Regions from separate parts of the Homo sapiens genome. Here all the other regions are linked to region 1. The links are contacts of gene promoters, found by promoter capture Hi-C in human tissues and cell types (Jung and others, 2019). All regions are on one chromosome and are shown on one strand. The core of a region is centred on a gene start or on the middle of the fragment in contact, and the rest is flanking DNA. Distances in the headings are between cores, read along the strand shown.

Region 1 (3,262 bases), core at 467-2,966:
TATCTATGCCTATGACAGTCTGAGTTATACTTTCTCAGTCCTGGGCTGATTTTTATTTTTCATTGTGGAGGAATTTTGAATTGACACTTGATTGATGAGGAGCCAGGCTTACTAAAATCCAGGGTAAGAGTCAGAGATATGTATGCACCCTAGCCCTGGCTCTGCTACAGTGTGTGATCTTGGGCACGTTTTTTCTTTTCTTTTAAAGACAACTTTATTAAGACATAATTTCTATACAATATATTCACTCATTTAAAGTGTACAATTCAGTGGTTTTAGTATATACACAGAGTTGTGCAACTACCATCACAATTTTAGAACACCTTCATCGCCCTTAAAAGAAATGCCACACGCTTTAGTGGTCACTCCCTATTTCCCCTAACCCTCCACACCCCACCCCACCAGCCCTAAGCAACTGCCAATCTACTTTTTGCCTTTAATAGTTTGGGGTCCACCAGGTGCACTGGCTCACGCCTGTAATCCCAGCACTTTGGGAGGCCTTGGCTGGTGGATCACTGGAGGCACGCGCCACCACACCTGGCTAATTTTTTTTTTTTTTTGAGACGGAGTCTCGCTCTGTCGCCAGGCTAGAGTGCAGTGGTGCAATCTTGGCTCACTGCAACCTCCACCTCCCGGGTTCAAGTGATTCTCCTGCCTCAGCCTCCCGAGTAGCTAGGACTACAGGCGCGCACCACCATGCCCAGATAATTTTTTGTATTTTTTTGTTTGTTTGTTTTTGTTTTTGAGAGAGTTTTGCTCTTGTTGCCCAGGCTGGAGTGCAATGGCACAATCTCGGCTCACTGCAACCTCCACCTCCCAGGTTCAAGCAATTCTCTTGCCTCAGCCTCCCGAGTAGCTGGGATTACAGGCATGTGCCACCACGTCCAGCTAATTTTGTATTTTTTTTAGTAGAGACAGGGTTTCTCCATGTTGGTCAGGCTGGTCTTGAACTCCTGACCTCAGGTCCCAAAGTGCTGCATTACAGGAGTAAGCCACCGCACCCGGCCAATTTTTGTATTTTTAGTAGAGACGGGGTTTTGCCATGGAAACCAGCCTGGTCTCGATCTCTTGACCTCATGATCCGCTTTCCTTGGCCTCCCAAAGTGCTGGGATTACAGGCGTGAGCCAGCGCGCCTGGCCAATTTTTTTTTTTTTTTTAAATTTTTAGACGGAGTTTCACCATGTTGGCCAGGCTGGTCTCGAACTCCTGACCTCAGGTGATCCACCCGCCTCGGCCTCCCAAAGTGCTAGGATTACAGGCGTGAACCACCACGCCCGGCCAAATTTGGGGAGCAATTTTCTTAATCTCTTTGTGCCTCAGTTTTCTCTTCTACAAAAATGAGACGACAATTGTACTACTGGTCATAGAGTACTAAGAGGATAAGCGAAAACTGAGTGACATTGCCTATCAAGAGCCTCGTATAAAGTCCGAGAGGTTCAGGTCTGTAAGTCAGAGTCCGCCTCCTGGTCCCTAAACGCTCATTTTAATCCCACGCCCCTCCGTGACACGCCCCTGCTGTCTGTCTCCAAGGCAACGCCCAACAGTTTCCTCTCCGGGATTCCTTTCCCGGGGGCAGTCTCTTTTCTCTCCTCACCTGACGGCTCCCCTCCGCGCCTCCGGGGGCTCCCTCAGGCCTCCCCACGGTCATTTCAGCTGGACAGAGGCAGCAGCGACAGTGACAGCGATAGTGGCAGCAGCGGTGGCAGCGAGAGCTATGCGGGGCCAGGGTCCACCCCTTTCTAGCTTTGGCGTCTGGTTGGCTTCCAGGGCAGCCTCCGATCCATCCCGCCCGAGGAGGCAAGGTTCGTTTTCCGATTGGCCTATTTTCTCCGCGCATTTTATTTCCGGTTCTGAGGACGCCGCGGAAGCGGGACGGGATTGGAGTGCTCTGCTCCGGACGCACTACGTAGGTGGGCCTGCGGGAGTTCTGAGTGCGACGGCGCAGGTCTGCACCATGGCGGCCCGGCTTGTCAGCCGATGCGGGGCTGTGCGTGCAGCTCCCCACAGCGGCCCGCTGGTGTCCTGGCGCAGGTGGTCCGGCGCCTCAACAGACACCGTGTATGACGTGGTGGTGTCGGGTGGAGGCCTGGTGGGCGCTGCCATGGCCTGTGCCTTGGGTAAGCCCTTCTCCAGGCTACTAGTGGCCGGAAACCGGGCCGCGGAGGCACGATGAGAGCCGTGAGAGCCCTAGCACGACTTGCCCAAAGACAATTTCTCAGGTCTCGCGACGCTTCTCCCCTCCCCTCCTAGAGGAACCCCAGGGCACGCCGGAATGCGTGTGGTCCTTCAGGGTCCATTAGGGTCAAAAGTGGGAGGGGCGTTCAGAGTCTGTTCTACTCATGGGAAAACAGGCCTTCCCGGGGTTATTTATAAATGAGAGTTCCAGTTTCTCCAGATCCTGGACAGTACTTGTCATTGTCTTTTTGTTTATAGACATTCTAGTGGGTGTAAGTAAAGTGGGATCTCCAGGTTTTGACTTGTATTTCCCTAATGATTAATGATGTTGAATATCCTTTCATATGTTTATTGGTCATTTGTATATCTTCTTTAGAGAAATGCCTATTCAGACCCTTTGCCCGGTTTTTAATTGAGCAGTTTGTCTCTTGAATACTGTGGTAAGAGTTATTTTTATTTTTTGAGACAGGGTCTTCCGCTGTGCCCAGGCTGCAGTGCAGTGGCACGATCACGGCTCACTGTAGCCTCAACCTCCCTGGCTGAATTGATCCTCCTGCCTCTGCCTCCCAAATAGCTGGGACTGCAGGAATGCGCCACCACTCGGCTGATTTTTGTATTTTTTTGTAGAGACGAGGTCTCACTATGTTGCCCAGGCTGGTCTGGAACTTCTGGGCTCAAGCAATCCACCTGCCTCAGCCTCCCAAAGTGCTGGGATTACCGGCATAAGCAACCCTGCCTGGCCATTATTTTGTTTATTCTGTATAAGTCCCTTATCTGATAAATGACTTGCAAATATTTTCTTCCATTTTGTAGTCTTTTCACTTTTTTTTTTTTCCCTGAGATGGAGTTTCGCTCTTGTTGCCCAGGATGGAGTACAATGGCACGATCTCAGCTCACTGCAACCTCTGGGATTACAGGCTTGTGCCACCATGCCTGGCTAATTTTTGTATTTTTAGTAGAGACGGGGTTTCACCATATTGGCCAGGCTGGTCTCGAACTCCTGATCTCGTGATCCACCTGCCCCTTCCTCCCAAAGTGCTGGGATTACAGGCATGAATCACCATGCTTGGCCCATTATGAGATTTT
Region 2 (3,262 bases), core at 269-2,768, 460 kb before region 1:
AATGGATGCATTTAAATTCAGTTTTGAACTTAAAATATCAATATGTAAAGCTGGAATACTTACATGTTTGAAATTAAACTCTGCTTCTATTTAAAATGAAAACATTTTAGATGTCAATTTTTTTTTTTTGAGACGGAGTCTCATCTCTGTCACCCAGGCTGTAGTACAGTGGCTCAATCTCAGGCTCACTGCAACCTCCGCCTCTCAGGTTCAAGCGATTATCCTGTCTCAGCCTCCCGAGTAGCTGGGATTACAGGCATGCACCACCATACCTGGCTAATTTTTCTTTATTTTCAGTAGAGACGGGGTTTTACCATGTTGGCCAGGCTGGTCTCAAACTCCCGACCTCAGGTGATCCACTTGCCTCTGCCTCCCAAAGTGCTGGGATTGCAGGCGTGAGCCATCATGCCTGGCCTCATTTTAGATGTCAATTTAAGAAGGTAAAGAGGTGACATCATTTTTCAAAATTATTTTATAGGTTATATGAGCAAGCAAAAGAGTTGGAAATTCAACATCCTAGATAGCATCTGTTACGACGTATAGCAAGACTCAGCCAATTTGTTCTGTAAAAGGCCAGATAGTAGATATTTCAGGCTTTTGGGGCCAGATGGCCTATTCAAACTGTGGTTTTTTGTTTGTTTGTTTGTTTGTCATTGAGAGGGAGTCTTGCCCTGTTGCCCAGGCTGGAGTGCAGTGGCGCGATCCTGGCTCACTGCAACCTCTGTCTCCCGCATTCAAGCAATTCTGGTGCCTCAGCCACCTGAGTAGCTGGGATTATAGGCACATGCCACCACACCCGGCTAATTTTTGTATTTTTTAGTAGAGACGGGGTTTCACTATGTTGGCCAGGCTGGTCTCGAACTCCTGGCCCCAAGTGATCCTCCCGCCTCAGCCTCCCAAAGTGCTGGGATTACAGGCATGAGCCACCACACCCAGCCTAAACTTTATATTAACATCCTAAAGTTAAACATGAAAATTCTTCTATAACAAATAATCCCATTGCCCAGAGGGAACTTCTTTCTGTCTTCAGTTTGGTTTATATCTTTCCAGATATTCAACTATGCAGGCAGACACACACACACACACACACAGACACACACACACACACACACACACACACATATATGGTTTTAAATAAATTTTACATAATGTAGGCTCATGCCTGTAATCCCAGCACTTTGGAAGGCTGAGGCAGGTGGATCACCTGAGGTCAGCAGTTTGAGACCAGCTTAGCCAATATGGTGAAACCTTGTCACTACTAAAAATAGAAAAATTGGCTGGGCATGGTGGCAAGCGCCTGTAATCCCAACTACTTGGGAGGCTGAAGCAGGAGAATCGCTTGAACCTGGGAGGTGGAGGATGCAGTGAGCCGAGATTGCACCACTGCACTCCAGCCTGGGTGACAGAGGGAAACTCTGTCTCAAAAAAGAAAAAAGAATAAAGAAAAGAAAAGAAAATTATATATAATGTATATTGGCTGCATTTTTTAAGCAAAAAATGGGACAACATATTGTTCTATAATTTGATTTTTTAACACGTTATAGACATTTCCTTGTCATTCCTTTAAATAACTATTGATTGGTAGATATTTGAGTAATTTCCAGTTTTGAAATTAAAAGCAACAACCATCTATGTGTAAATATCTTTGTACACATGGGTGAATTTTTTTTTTTTTTTTCGAGACAGGGTTTGGCTCTATTGCCCAGGCTGGAGTGCAGTGGCGCCATCTCAGCTCACTGCAACCTCTGCATCCCAGGCTCAAGCCATCCTCCCACCTTAGCCTCCCTAGTAGCTGGGACCACAGGTGTACATCACCATGCCTGGCTAATTTTTGTATTTAAAATTTTTCGGCTTGGCATGGCAGCTCATTCCTGTAATCCCAGCACTTTGGGAGGCCAAGGCAGTTGGATCACTTAGGGCAAGGAGTTCAAGACCAGCCTGGCCAACATGGCAAAACTCCATCTCAACTAAAAATACAAAAATTAGTTGGGCATCGTGGCACATGCCTGTAATCCAAGCTACTCAGGTGAGGCACAAGAATCGCTTGAACCTGGCAGGTGGAGGTTGCAGTGAGCCAAGATCACGCCACTGCATTTCAGGCTAGGTGACAAAGCAAGACTCTGTCTCAAAAAAAAAAAAAATGCTGATTTTTCATAGCAACAGCGTCTCACCATGTTGCTCAGGCTGGTCTGGAACTCTTGAGTTCAAGCAATCCACCTGCCTCAGCCTACCAAAGTGTTGGGATTATCGGTGTTAGCCACTGCACCTGGCCAGTGAATATTTTTTAAGGATAGATTTCTAGATGTAGAATTACTACTGGGTCAAAGATATCAAAATTTTGTATTGATGAATTGTCATCTAAAAGTTTTTACCAGGGTTTCTCAATCCTGGTACTATTGACATTTGGGCCCAGATACTCCTTGGTTATGGGGTTTCATTGTACATTGTAGAATGTTTTACAGCATCCCTCAATGCTAGTAGCACCCCCACTGTTGGACAACCAAAAATATCTCTAGATATTGCTAAATGACCCCTGGGGGTGCAAAATAGCCCCAGGTTCAGAACCACTGCCTCGGACATTTGCTTTCTTTTACTTTCCTTTTATTTCTCTTTCTCACCATCTCCCTTTCAACAACTCATGCTATCCTTCCTTCTTAAAGAAAAGAACTTATGAGGCTGGGTGTGGTGGCTCACGCCCGTAATTCCAGCACTTTGGGAGACTGAGGCAGGTGGCTTGCCTGAGTCCAGGAGTTCAAGACCAGCTTGACCAACATGGCGAAACCCCGTCTCTAGTGAAAATACAAAAATTAGCCGGGTGTGGTGGCCTGCGCCTGTAATCCCAGCTACTTGGGAGGTGGAGACAGGAGAATTGCTTGAACCCAGGAGGCGGAGATTGCAGTGAGCCGAGATCGTGCCATTGCACTCCAGCCTGGGCAACAGAGTGAGACTCTGTCTTGAAAAAAAAAAAGAAAGGAACTTATAATTTAGTATATATCACCCTTCCTTCCCAGTATATTTACACTTTAGATATAGATGAAGTGAAAGTGACAATGACTAATTCAAGAATAACTATCTAATGATGGGATGAATTTTGATGGGAGAGATAATTTGGGGTACTTTCCTGATAGGCTTTAAATCATACTATGTACACTTAAACATCCTGTTGGCTCTATTCATCTTCTTTTCTGTAGAAGTTTCTCTGAATAACAATGATTAGCATCTATATTCAGAATGTCAAGTTCCTGGCCCAGCGCGATGGCTC
Region 3 (3,262 bases), core at 275-2,774, 280 kb before region 1:
TGGGAGGCTGAGGCAGGAGAATGGCATGAACCCAGGAGGCGGAGGTTGCAGTGAGCTGAGATTGCGCCACTGCACTCCAGCCTGGGTGACAGAGCGAGACTCTGTCTCAAAAAAAAAAAAAAAAAAAGAAATTCTTAAGGGTCAGATTCTGGGATTAAATAAAGGAAGTTTCCTAACCCAAAATAATAACCATCAGATGAATTATTTGTTTTCTAATTGGATATGGTGAGTAAAATTCTTAATGATCTGTAAAAATTTGATTTTTTTTTTTTTTGAGACGGAGTCTTGCCCTGTCACCCAGGCTAGGGTGCAGTGACATAATATCAGCTCACTGCAACCTCCGCCTCCCGGGTTCATGCCATTCTCCTGCCTCAGCCTCCCGAGTAGCTGGGACTACAGGCGCCCACCACCACACCTGGCTAATTTTTTTGTATTTTTTTAATAGAGATGGGGTTTCACCGTAGTAGCCAGGATGGTCTCGATCTCCTGACCTCATGATCCGCCTGCCTCGGCCTCCCAAAGTGCTGGGATTACAGGCGTGAGCCACCACACCTGGGCAAAATTTGATATTTGTGATGTTCTAAATAAATTGGTAAGTTTAAGGATATTTAGCCTTCTGTCCAGTTTCTGAGCCTTAGATGGAAAAATTTCAAATATAGAGACATTGTGCATAAAGCGTAAAATATTAAATTGTAATACAGAAATTCAGAATTATTATATTTCAGGCTAAATGTAACTTTGAGTTATCTATAAAGAAATAGTTTGCAGATAAATGTACTCCAGAACTTTTAGTGTCAATATACTTGATGTTCCCCCAGGTATTTATAGAATCCCTTATAGAATCCCAAATTCTCAAGTATTACTATAGCATGTAATTTATTCCATAAAATGTAATAAATACCCAGAGACCACAAATAAATTATAAATATAGGATTAAAGGTATGTATTGTGTATTAAGATGCTATCTGGCTGAACTATCACTTGTTTTAGATATCGTCACTTTTTATACACTCCTATCAATGATAGCCAATAGTTGTTTTTCTTTCCAGGGTGTAATGTGGGGTTTTGTCCAAAAGCTTTATTGCTTATTTGCAGAATAAAGAAAAACAAAGCTATGGCTGGGCACAGTGGTTCATGCCGGTAATCTGGCACTTAGAAGGCCAAGGTGGGAGGATCCCTTGAGGCCAGGAGTTTACCTGGGCAACATAGCAAGACTTCGTCTCTACTGAAAATTTAAAAAGAAATTAGCCAGGCATGGTGGTACATGCCTATAGTCCCAGCTACTCGGGGAGGCTGAGGTGGAAGGATTGATTGCTTGAGCCTAGGAGTTTGAGTTTACAGTGAACTATGATTGTGCCATAGCAATGCAGTCTGGGTGACAGAGGGGAAAAAAAAAAGGAAAGAAAAAGAAAGCTGCATTGGGATGCAGATACTGGGTTTCTAATATGTTCACATACTAGATGACTTATTCATCTAGACACATCTGCCTCATAGCATGATTTAAATAGCTGTCTCAGTAAATTAAAAATGATTACTGTAATGTGTGAAACATGGAATGTTAAGTTGAAGGAAAGGGGTTGATTTATAACTATTCAGGAAAACTATTGAGGTACATTATAAACCCATTTGTATATATGATCTGGCCTTTGCCTTCCTTTCTGATCTCATTTCATGTTTCTCTTCTCCTAGTTGATAATCTCTAGTGACTGGCCTTCTTTCTGTTCCTTGACCATGCACAATTCATTCCCACCTGAGAATCTTTATACTTGGCTGTTCCCTCTGTCTTAAAAACTCTATTGCCATGGATTTCCACAATGCGGACCCCTTCTTAACCCTCACACTTCAGCTCAGATGTCACCTCCTCAAAGGTGACCCAATCACGATGTGGGCTCCTTCTTGATCTTTACACCTCAGCTCAGATGTTGCTTCCTCAAAGGTGACCCAATCACGATGTGGGCTCCTTCTTGATCTTTACACCTCAGCTCAGATGTTGCCTCCTCAAAGGTGACCCAATCACCGTATATCTAAAGCAGCTCTCTAAGCACTAATTCTTTTTGTTTTAGACGAGGTCTCACTCTGTCACCCAGGCTAGAGTGCAGTAGTACAATCACAGCTCATTGCAACCTTGACCTCCTGGGCTCAGGCCATCCTCCCACCTCAGCCTCCTGAGTAGCTGGGGCCACAGGTGTGTGCCATCATACCAAGCTAATATTTTAATTTTTTGTAAAGACAGGGTCCCACTATGTTGCCCAGGCTGATCTCAAACTCCTGGGCTTAAGCAATACTCTGGCCTCAGCCTGAGCTGAGTAATTCCAAAGTGCTGGAATTACAGGCGTGAGCCACCATGCCTGGTGGAGTAACTATTTTTTTGAGCCAGGGTCTCACTGTGTCGCCCAGGCTGGAGTGTCTCCTGGGCTCAAGCAGTCCTCCCGCTTCAGCCTCCCAAGTAGCTGTGACTAAAGACACACCTCATCACACTCAGCTAATTTTTTTGTATTTTTAGTAGGGGTCTCGCCATGTTGCCCAGGCTGGTCTTGAACTCCTGGGCTCAAGCAATCCACCTGCCTCAACCTCCCAAAGTGCTAGGATTACAAGCCTGAGCCACCACGCCTGGCTGAGTAACTCCTACCAGTTGTAATTTTATTTTTTCATGTTACTCATTATTACCTGAAATTCTTGTTCTTGTTCTCTCTCTCTCTCTCTCACACACAAACACACACACACACACACACAAATCCTAATGACCATTCAGTTTTGATTTTTGTTTGCTTAGAGACAGGTTCTCACTCTCTCACCCAGGCTGGAGTGCAGTGGCATGATTACAGCTCACTGTAATCTCGGACTAGTATAGTTTACTATAATCTTGAACTCCTGGGCTCCAGCAATCCTTGCTCCTCAGCCTCCTAAGAAGCTGGCACTACAGGTGGATAGCTGGGATTACAGGTGTGCACCACCTTGCCCAGCTAATTAAAAAAAAAATTTTTTTTTTGTAGTGATGGAGTCTTACTATGTTGTACAGGCTGGTCTTGAACTCCTGGCCTCAAGTGATCCTCTTGCCTCATCCTCCCAAAGTGCCAGAATTACAGGCGTGAGCCACTGTGAGGGCCTGGCCATTTCAGTTTTGTTAATTAGCATCTACAATAGTGCTTGATATATATAGTAGACACTCTGTAAGTGTTTATTCAGTGACTCAACATGTTTTATTACAGTTACACAACTATTAAGTTAAAATTGTAGGCTGGGCGCAGTGGCTCACGCCTGT
Region 4 (3,262 bases), core at 333-2,832, 260 kb before region 1:
ATTTAAAGTAGAGAGGTATGTCTTCTTTTTCCCTCCCATCCTGTACTGTCTTCTGAGAATGACTTTATATGGTATAACTTTCCTAGCTTCCTTCAAAATCTTAAACAACTGATTGTCATGAATAGTCACAAACTGAGGGTTAATGATATTGGAATTTAATCCCCAAAATTGTAACAGTAAAACTTGCTGTTTTTTTTTTTTTTTTTTTTTTTTTGAGACAGAGTCGTGCTCTGTCGCTCAGTCTGGAGTGCATTGGTGCAATCTCTGCTCACTGCAACCTCCGTCTCCCGGGTTCAAGCAGTTCTCCTGCCTCAGCCTCCTGAGTAGCTGGGACTACAGGTGCCCACCACTATGCCTGGCTTATTTTTGTATTTTTAGTAGAGATGGGGTTTCACTGTGTTAGCCAGGATGGTCTCGATCTCCTGATGTCGTGATCCGCCCGCCTTGTCCCCCCAAAGTTCTGGGATTACAGGCGTGGACCACCGCACCCGGCCAAAACTTAGTGTTTTAATATGGAAAATATTCTTTTACTTGTAGCTGAGTTTGTGAAGCTGGCAGAACTGCCATGCCTCGAAGACCTGGTGTTTGTAGGCAATCCCTTGGAAGAGAAACATTCTGCTGAGAATAACTGGATTGAAGAAGCAACCAAGAGAGTGCCCAAACTGAAAAAGCTGGATGGTGAGTGATTCTGAGCTGGCTTAGACATATCTTCTAGGCATAAAAATGGAATTTGTGGCATGGAATCATGAAGAGGAGAAAAACTAAAGAAAAAATACCTCTGATCTTCCAGGTCATTTCTATCTATGTAAAATTGAATGGTCTAGGTTTGAGCCAAGGTGAGATGAAAAACTGCTAGGATATTTAGACTGGTACAAGATTCTCCCTAGACCAAAAGCTTATAAGAAAGCTAGGCCTGGCCGGGCATGGGTGGCTCACGCCTGTAATCCTAGCACTTTGGGAGGCTGAGGCGGGTGGATCACCGAAGGTCAGGAGTCTGAGACCAGCCTGGCCAACATGGTGAAACCCCATCTCTACTAAAAATATAAAAATTAGCCAGGCGTGGTGGCGGGCACCTGTAATCCCAGCTACTCGGGAGGCTGAGGCAGGAGAATCACTTGAACTCGGCAGGCGGAGGTTGCAGTGAGCTGAGATTGTGCCATTGCACTCCAGCCTGGGCAAAAAAGAGTGAAATTCCGTCTCAAAAAAAAAAAAAAGAAAAGAAAAGAAAGCTAGGCCTTATAAATCTACATGGAGCCAGTCACAGTGGCACGTTTCTGTAGTCAAGCTATTCAATGAGGCAAGAAGATTGCTTGAGGTCAGGAGTTTGAGACCAGCCTTTGCAATATAGTGAGAAAAACCCTGTATTTATTTTTAAAAAATTGTATATTTATTTTTTCCTGATATAAATTTCCTTCTGCTATGTTGGATTAAAGCTGGAATTATTCAGGGTTTGGTGCTGAGCCTCCTCCTTTTCTCACTCTTCCCTGTATCACAAGGAGGACACCCATGCAAGCAGTAAGAGAGAAGGAGCCTGGCCAGGTGCGGTGGCTCATGCCTGTAATCCTAGCACTTGGGGAGGCCAAGGCGGGCAGATCACCTGAGGTTGGGAGTTCGAGACCAGCCTGACCAACATGGAGAAACCCCATCTCTACTAAAAATACAAAATTAGCCGGATGTGGTGGTGCATGCCTGTAACCCCATCTACTCGGGAGGCTGAGGCAGGAGAATCGCTTGAATCCGGGAGGCGGAGGTTGTGGTGAGCCATGATTGTGCCACTACACTCCAGCCTAGGCAACAAGAGCGAAACTCCGTCTCAAAAAAAAAAAAAAGAGAAGGATCCTGACTTCCAGACAACATAAAGTTCCATGTCTATCTACTATCTACTTGTACTTTTATGTAAAAGAAAAATAAACTTCTAGCTCATTTAAGCAAGTTTAAAAAATAAAGAAAGTTAGGCTTATTCTCAAGTCAGAAAGGTAACACAAAGGTCACAAATTTTGATCAGAATCAAAAATTATTCTGATTCTGCAGAATAATTAGAAATACATGGTAAGCAGTTGCTTTTTTACAATTGGATCAAAATTGTGGTATTCTCTCTGTTTCTCCCCTCATCCCCAGTCTTAGTTTCCCAATATCTTAAGATCAGTGTCAGCATCAGTAGATAACCCTAATTAACTGAGTCAAGTCCCAGCTCCTCCACTTAATAGTTTGTGAAATTGTGCTAATTAATTAATCTCACCAAACCTTGTTCATTGGTAATCTAAAAACTGGAGATGATAATAGTATCATTAGTAATCATTTCAGAACATATATCAGAGTATTATTATGAGGATTAAATAAAATAATCTATGTGAAACAATGAACACATAGAGATAATCTACGCTAAACGTTGTGCTTAACATAAAGTAAGTATTCAAAATATATGTTATTAGCTGGGTGTGGTGGCTCACACCTGTAATCCTAGCACTTTGGGAGGCCGAGGTGGGAGGATCACTTGAGGTCAGGAGTTCGAGACCAGCCTGGCCAACATGGTGAAATCCTGTCTCTAGTAAAAATACAAAATTAGCTGGACCTGGTGGTGGGTGCCTGTAATCTCAGTTACTCAGGAGGCTAAGGCAGGAGAATTGCTTGAACCTGGGAGGCGGTGGTTGCAGTGAGCCAAGATGATGCCACTGCACTCCAGCCTGGGCAACAGAGTGAGACTCTGTCTCAGAAACAAAATAAAGAGTTATAATTATTTTAGATTTTAACTCAATCCCAAAATGCAAGTGTATAAGAAATATTTCAATATAAATCGACCTCATTTTGACTTTGAACACTACCTCCCCAATTCAATTCAGCTGGGCTGTTAAGAAATTCAGTCTGTCATTCTTTTTTTTAGAGTCTGGCTCTGTTGCCCAGGCTGGAATACAATGGCGCAATCTTGGCTCACTGCAACCTCCGCCTCCCGGGTTCAAGCGATTCTCCTGCCTCAGCCTCCCAAGTAGCTGGAACTACAGGCGTGCGCCACCCCCCCCCCCCAGCTAATTTTTGTATTTTTAGTAGAGATGGGGTTTCACCATGTTGGCCAGGATGGTTTTGACCTCTTGACCTCGTGATCCGCCCGCCTTGGCCTCCTAAAGTGCTGGGATTATAGGCGGTGAGCCACTGTGCCCAGACTTTTTTTTTTTTTTTTTTTGAGACAGAGCCTTGCTCTGTCACCCAGGCTAGAGTGCAGTGGCACCATCTCAACTCACTGCAAGCTCCGCCTCCCAAGTTCAAG

Evidence for each region. Contacts are between HindIII fragments. The study calls those that stand out against the background at their distance.
Region 2: a fragment that was not itself captured here is called in contact with the fragment with the promoter of FAM161B in region 1 in 1 of the 25 tissues and cell types used here (aorta).
Region 3: a fragment that was not itself captured here is called in contact with the fragment with the promoter of FAM161B in region 1 in 1 of the 25 tissues and cell types used here (spleen).
Region 4: a fragment that was not itself captured here is called in contact with the fragment with the promoter of FAM161B in region 1 in 1 of the 25 tissues and cell types used here (mesenchymal stem cells).

What each region holds. Positions count from the first base shown.
Region 1 is chr14:73,948,378-73,951,639 of GRCh38, forward strand. It overlaps FAM161B (FAM161 centrosomal protein B), which reads right to left and starts at 1,717. Exons shown (of 9, transcript NM_152445.3): 1 at 1,596-1,717. The coding sequence starts at 1,649. COQ6 (coenzyme Q6, monooxygenase) reads left to right here and starts at 1,925. Exons shown (of 12, transcript NM_182476.3): 1 at 1,925-2,118. The coding sequence starts at 1,956. RefSeq lists enhancers at 1,607-2,607, 1,624-1,683. The HindIII fragment of the contact is 12,170 bases long and covers 1-3,262 here.
Region 2 is chr14:73,483,742-73,487,003 of GRCh38, forward strand. The region is part of intron 17 of HEATR4 (HEAT repeat containing 4); the gene reads right to left. Among named protein-coding and RNA genes, the nearest start is that of RIOX1, 5.6 kb to the right of the region's middle. The HindIII fragment of the contact is 7,136 bases long and covers 1-3,262 here.
Region 3 is chr14:73,672,500-73,675,761 of GRCh38, forward strand. The region is part of intron 5 of DNAL1 (dynein axonemal light chain 1); the gene reads left to right. Among named protein-coding and RNA genes, the nearest start is that of DNAL1, 29 kb to the left of the region's middle. The HindIII fragment of the contact is 8,143 bases long and covers 1-3,262 here.
Region 4 is chr14:73,688,838-73,692,099 of GRCh38, forward strand. DNAL1 (dynein axonemal light chain 1) reads left to right here. Exons shown (of 8, transcript NM_031427.4): 7 at 538-678. Among named protein-coding and RNA genes, the nearest start is that of PNMA1, 24 kb to the right of the region's middle. The HindIII fragment of the contact is 3,889 bases long and covers 1-3,262 here.